Linked DNA regions of Homo sapiens: region 1 is linked to region 2. The links are contacts of gene promoters, found by promoter capture Hi-C in human tissues and cell types (Jung and others, 2019). All regions are on one chromosome and are shown on one strand. Each heading gives the region's core, a stretch centred on a gene start or on the middle of the fragment in contact. The rest is flanking DNA. Distances are from core to core; before and after follow the strand shown. Region 1 has its middle 79 kb from the start of IZUMO3. Region 2 holds the start of IZUMO3 (IZUMO family member 3).

Region 1 (3,378 bases), core at 420-2,919, 79 kb before region 2:
TCAGAATAGTTGTATTTATGAGAAGGATGTTACTAATTTTTTCAACAAATATTTATTGAGATCTTACCAAGAATTTCTGCTGAGAAATTCTTCAGAACATTTAGTTAAGATATGTTAAAATCACATCATTGCAATTTTACTGTAATGGTAAAGGCCCCTAGTGGGCCAATTCAAAGACTCATTCTAGGTAGGAACATTTTCAAAGAAAGTAGAATGACTACGTAGTAATATTTACACTAAATACGAAAACCAGCATACGTTCTGTCAAAGATTAGGCTTTTGTCTGAGAGCTGATTGGCTGGGTTGTGTAATTAGTCTCCCAGAAAGCTAATTCTGTTAAATAATTTATAATTCTGTTGAAGTTTATTATAAAATTGCTGAAGCATGTTATCAGGAATGCCTACTTCTTCCTTGAGAGAGGTTTGAGACCATTTTTCTTTTGTTCACGTGACAGAGAGTATGCCAAGTGCTAGGGCTGCATAGATGAGTGGATCAAGATCTGAGCCCCTGGAAGAAGTTAGAAAATAATCTGAATTAACAGAAAAGCAAGTATGTCAGAGCAGTAAAAGACAGCCTGTGTTGGCATCAGGAATGATTCCAAAGGAGAGAGTAAGAAATTGAATAGAGGGTTTTGGGTAGTAGGTCAGCTAAATGAAAGAACTCTTCTTGGAGTTAAATTCTGACAGATAAGTAAGTTTTTGTCAGGGGGATAGAAGGAAAGTGTAGGGAAGTAGAACGTGGAACCAAGACCTTATCTTTTAGAGGGGCTAAAAAAGCATAAATTAAGTGTTCTGCATTGCAAAATGTTTGGAGATCTGGATCTTGTAAGCAGTTTTCATGGAGCTTATAGTCTAGTAGGGGAAAAGATTAGACGATTAAAAACTCATGCATATGTCTTTTAAAGAATGAGAGGATACTATGAAGCTGTCGTTGGTAATATTCAAACCAAAAGCTTAATAATGAGCACCCAGATTTAAGAAAGTAATTAGGAAAGAACATTTCATTAGAAAGAACACTTAGTCTCGTGAGTGACAGCCAGGAATTAGGAAAGAACTATCTGTGTCAGAGGAATTAAAAGATTACATCATTTTTGGAATAGGGTGAGTGAAAGGCTCAATTAACTCAAGAGTGTTTAGTTGAAATTATTTAGCAGCCAATCAATGCATAATTCACACATAATCCATTTACATTTTTAGCAAAGTGATAAGTTTAGATAATAATCTAGATTAGGGTAATAGGTTACATTCTAGCCCATTGTCTAGTTTTGTAAATAAAGTTTTATTAGAATACAGCCATACTCATTCATTTATGAATTATTGATAGTTGCTTTTGTTTTAGAACAGCAGAGTTGAGTAGTAATGAAAGAGACTCCATGGATCCAAAGCCTACAATGTTTACCAGCTGCCTTTTCTCAGTAAAAGTCAAGTCCTGATCAACGTCCTTGTGGTTTAATATAAAGTGCACTCATACACATAGTCACATGCACACACACAGAACGTTGCTTCAGTAATAATTTTCATGAATTGAAACATGAATATGTAAATCCTGATTGGTGGTGAGTGGATCCTCTATTATTACTAAAATTCTCTTTTTGGAAACAGTTCTTTGGGCTACAACCACCCAGTGGTTGTAGACAACCCTGAGGTTGTCAATTTTTCCAAGGTAATGGGTAAGAAAAACAGAAAAGTCTGGACTATGAGGGAAGAGTTTAGAATTGCTAGTTTTGTTAGATTGCCTTAGGGTATATTAATTCTATAATCATTTTTACAAATAAATCCTCCTCATCTTTAATTTCAGGAACAAAAATATATTGTAATGTGTAGAGCTTTTGTCTTAGCAAGCTACATGGTACATTATTATATGTAACTGACAAAGTTTCAGAATTAGAAATATACAATTACAGGTATCTGCATATTTCATCATTAGTAATGCAATGCAGCTAAAGGGTCAGTAAAATTTTAAGAAGTTTGTATTTTAAATGCCTTCAAATATTGAATCTTGATTTTAAGTGGAAATTATAACAGTCATATATTTGAGAAGTAATACACAATTAATCTATTTTTATATGCTGTATCATGATTTGCAATTTCGAAGTACAGAAGAAATAGAAAATACATGGGCAACTCAAACCAAATAGTAAACTCTTTAAAAAATGCTTTTAGAATAATAACATATAAATTATAAACACTACACATACAATTTAATGTGTAACAATAAACTAAACCTCTGTGTATCTCCTACCTCGCTTAAGACACAAAACGATATGAGAAAATTTGATATCCCTTGTGAATTTCCTAATCATCTTCCCCGTTTTCCCAGCAGAAACAATAACTTCCTTAATTTTATGATAATGATTTGTTTTCCTTTGTAATTAACCATATATGCATGTATTCTTAAGCAGTATGTTATTTAATTTTCTCTGTTTTAAAAATTTTACTTAATCTCATAATGCTTGTATTTTTCTGCAATTTGCTTTTTTCATTCAACATTTAAGATTTTTCTACATTGATGCTTATAGCTATAGTGCATTCATTTTCACTCCCTGGATGGATAATATTTTATTTATGAATATCCTGTTCTGCATGTGACAGGATATTTAGGTTCTTTTGAGGTGTTATTATCATGACCAATGCATCTTTGAATGTTTTTGCACATATCTGAATGAATGGGTACACAAATTTCTCTAAGAATATAGGAATAGAATTGCTTGGTCTTGATTATATGCAACTTCACTAAATAATGCCAACTGCAATTGAACCAATTGACTTCTTCACTAGCAGTGTACAGGGATTCCTCTTGCTTCAAAACCTCTTCAAAAGACAGTGTTATGATACTCTTCACTTTTTCCCAAAGTAGTGGTGAATTACATTTTTAAAAATGTAATATCCTTGTTTCATAAATGGGTTTTATTGTGTCAGCTTTGTTCCATTTGCGTGCTTAACCCTGTGCTATTATTATACTCCAAATTATGTAGTGTATTCATAAGTTTTGATAACAGGTAGGGCAAGTTGCTTTACATGTCTTTTATTTATGAAATTATTAATTATAAAATTTTTAAGAAACATTTATAAAATTATTTAGTTTGGTCTTGTTTTTAGAATTTGGCTTGTTTCTTGAAACAAGTTTTGGCTTGTTTTTAGAAATTTAGAAATTGTTAATTAGACCTTTGTATTGGAAAACAGCGACACTAAGTACAGAAATTTTCTCCAGTGTTTTGAAGATATTTTACTCTCACCCGTATTCCATTTCTGATGTTAAGAAGCCAGCAAAAGTCAAATTACCATTCCCTTGCAATAGGCAGTTTCCCCCCAACCCCGGCTGCTCTTACGAATTTTATTTTTATATTTGCTTTCTAGTAGTTTAACTGTAATATGTCTA
Region 2 (3,529 bases), core at 722-3,221:
AACTGTTGCTGATAGCTGTCAGCAAAATTCTTCCCAGCCTAATTTCTTCATTCCAAGCCTAGCCTCTTCATTTCTCAGCCTTTCAGTTGATTCAGTGCCAAATTATTTATACTGGTCAAAATTTCACCCAACACCCTAGCTCCATTTTGTAACACTACCATGACCTCCATTAAAGGTCATGTAGTGACCCAACAAATACATGTAGAATAAATCAGTGAGCAACCCTGCTCCTTAATCCCTGTCCCTTCAAAATTCCATACCATGATCTTTGTTACCTCCACAATATTCTCCTTTGAAGCACCTGTTAGTCATGCGAAGACACGTCCAACAATCAAGAATGGGACCTTCAACCACAACTGATAAAGAGGAGAAGAAAGATAATCAGAAAGAGGGCATGGCACGAGGGTTCCTTAGTCATACATCAAGTGTGGAGGATTTGATCTCAAGCATTCCCAGGACTCTCAAGTTTGCATTGCTGTGAATTTCTTCTTCTCCTAGAAATCAAGTTTCTTGATGGATCAAAATCTGTAAGTCTGATCTCCAGGAAAAAGCGGGAAAAGGATGCCTCAGCTTATACTGGGGCAATGGGTTGTAAACCATATGTTAGAAGGCCTCCTAGTACCTCAAAAATATGTGGGGTGTCTGAGATTTCATGAGCTAGGTTTCGTTATCAGGTATTGTTGACGTTACCCCTTGTAACCACAGCTCTAGGAATTGGTTTCCCAGTGTAACAGGTGGGAGAGATAGGGCCATATAGAGCAAAGGAGATGGGAAAATATGGGCTGAAACCTCAAGGCGTCACATGTACTGTACTCACTGCAATCTTCAGAACAAGCTAGAAGAGAATCAGAAAGTTCTAATGAGTTTAAAACCAGCTACAGTTTGCCATATTTATACCCAAGTAGTCTTTGTTTACCCTTTAAGTTCCAGTTACCTCTCCACCCATTCTAAATAACTCTATTATGAACTTGCATTTCTTCCCTCATCCCGCATTTTCTATTCCCTTCATATAACTTCAGTGCTGTTATATAGAAAGTTTTACTTACCAATTTCAGAGAAGTTCTTTAGTAATTCTTTCAGTTTGGATTCCAGGTTTTGGCAGACATCGAGAAGCTTGCCTTGATAGATAAAGACACCTAAGAGGGAGTGGAAGGGGTGTCAAAAAATAGAAGTAGCTCTTCCCTTCAGAAGTTAATTATGTCTGTTTTTATCTTTGTTTTCCCCAGCCAAATTTTCTGAGGCTTGCTTGAGCAATACAAACTTTTAACATTGAAACAGTACCTCACCTTTCCATGTTTCATTGCCCAGTTTATAAAATTCATTCTTCAACCATGTTCTCAACTTAACAACCTGCTGAACAGCTAGAGAGGGAGAGTAAAGGTACATGTAGGGGAATAATTACATCTATGCAGGAAGTTATGTAGACCCAGGTGTTCTCTTCCTTGCCTCCCTTCTCCGTTTAAGCCCCTGGACTCTCAGGAACTCAAGCTTCCCTCACCCAACACCCGAAGCCTCTTGTCACTGTGGGAGACCTTGAAGCTTAAATGAATCATCTCCTTAATCTGCCGTTCAAGCAGCTGAGTTCGGCCGGGGACTTCTGAAGGTATCAGATTTCCCAGCAAGGAGCCAACATCCTCTATAAATTTGGGGTCACATTCTAAACAGCCTTTGACTCCATGGAAGGCTGAGAGGGGCAGGAGCAGGAATAACCACAGGTCACCCATTTCTTTCTTCACCCCCGCTCCCCGACAGCAGGTTGTCCTGGCAACTAGTTCACTTAGTTCCTTTTCCTTCAAAAATCCGGGAATGAGAGCCTGGTTCTGGATAGTCTGACTCCACTTTTCCCGCTGTTTCCATCCCACTATCGGGCAATCTTTAGTTGTTTAGTTTAATGATCTTTAGTTGTTTACTGACTATTATCCTTCATTCTAGGAGAGGGAACTGCCAGCTGGGGAGCGGATACCTGAGTTCTGAGTGTAGAACACCAAGAGATAGAGAAGCCTTGAGCTCACACAAGCAGAGTTCTGTGCAGGGAGATGTCTCAGAAAAAGTGTTTCTTTAGCCCTCTCCCTGACTTGCATCCTCATGAGACTCTTAAACCCCCTCCTGACCTTCAGAGATGTTTATCATCAGAGATGGGTTATGGAAGTGATCCTATAGAACCTGAGAGATTGCTTAACTCAAACTCTGCTTCTACATTAGAGGTAAGAAAAGCCAAGAATATTGAGTTTCTTGCGGGTCTCGGTCCCTACTGGGGCAGTATTGTTGACAAATACTGGTGGCAGTATTGTTGAGAATAAAGGAGTGAGCATTTATCTAGAATAATATTTGGCAATTTTAATAGACAGTAACATATTTCAGGCTACATTTATCACTAGGATGATTTTCTAGACATGACTTGTAATCTTTTCCTTTTCTTCTTGCTTTCTTCTCTTTTCTTTCCCTTCCTTCCTTCCTTCCTTCCTTCCTTCCTTCCTTCCTTCCTTCCTTCCTTCCTTCCTTCCTTCCTTCTTTCTTTCTCCTTTTCTTTTCTTTTCTTTTCTTTTCTTTTCTTTTCTTTTCTTTTCTTTTCTTTTCTTTTCTTTTTTTTCTTTTCTTTTCTTCTTTCGAGATGGGATTTCACTCTTGTTGCCCGGGCTGGAGTGCAATGGCATGATCTCAGCTCACTTCAACCTCCGCTCCCGGGTTCCAGTGTTTCTCCTGCATCAGCCTCCTGAGTAGCTGGGATTACAGGCATGTGCCATCATGCCTGGCTTATTTTGTATTTTTAGTAGAGATGAGGTTTCTCCATGTTGGTCAAGCTGGTCTTGAACTCCCGACCTCAGGTGATTCACCCGCCTCGGCCTCCCAAAGTGCTGGGATTACAGGCATGAGCCACTGTGCCTGGTGATTTCTAATCTTTTTATAGCATTCTTCTTATAGAGAGTGTGGAGTCAGATACTAGAAACAATAGTTGAGGAATACTGAGTGATGAATCCAATAAAGTTCAGATCCTTTAACAAGTGCATTCTAAAATACTGGCAAAGTATGTAACATATAAAAACATAGTGGTTATCATGGGCTTCCCTCTCAGACCACCTACAAGGAAGATGTCCAAATAAACATGTTCTCCTTTCAATGGCCCTTTGAATAAAAATATTCTGTGTTATTTGAATAAATTGAGGTTGCTTTTCAGACTCTTAAGAGCACTGGTTACCTCTTTTCTAATACATTGCCTGTATGGCTGTGACCTTCTGGAAACCAGGAAACACTGGCAATCTACAGGGTTAGTGGTAGAATTTATATTTAAGATATGGGGTGATCACAGTGGAATGTTGTGCGGGAAGTTAAAAGAATTACCATTACTTATACGTCTACCAAGTCCATGTGACAGACATTGTGCTAAACATTTCAGGTAGTCACAAATTCTCATGGCGCGCAATCCTTTGGAGATTGTCATTTCTATGTTACTGGTAAGAAATTGAGACTCAGAGATGTAAAAGAATCCTCGCTGGAAGAATAATTTAGAGTATGAGTTCAGGGTTCAAGC

The links. Contacts are between HindIII fragments. The study calls those that stand out against the background at their distance.
Region 1: a fragment that was not itself captured here is called in contact with the fragment with the promoter of IZUMO3 in region 2 in 5 of the 25 tissues and cell types used here (H1 embryonic stem cells, IMR-90 fibroblasts, dorsolateral prefrontal cortex and 2 more).

What each region holds. Positions count from the first base shown.
Region 1 is chr9:24,465,391-24,468,768 of GRCh38, forward strand. No RefSeq gene overlaps it. Among named protein-coding and RNA genes, the nearest start is that of IZUMO3, 79 kb to the right of the region's middle. The HindIII fragment of the contact is 6,574 bases long and covers 1-3,378 here.
Region 2 is chr9:24,543,926-24,547,454 of GRCh38, forward strand. It overlaps IZUMO3 (IZUMO family member 3), which reads right to left and starts at 1,972. Exons shown (of 7, transcript NM_001365008.2): 1 at 1,499-1,972; 2 at 1,287-1,361; 3 at 1,047-1,136; 4 at 818-835; 5 at 276-356. The coding sequence starts at 1,724. RefSeq lists an enhancer at 422-1,621. The HindIII fragment of the contact is 4,602 bases long and covers 1,301-3,529 here.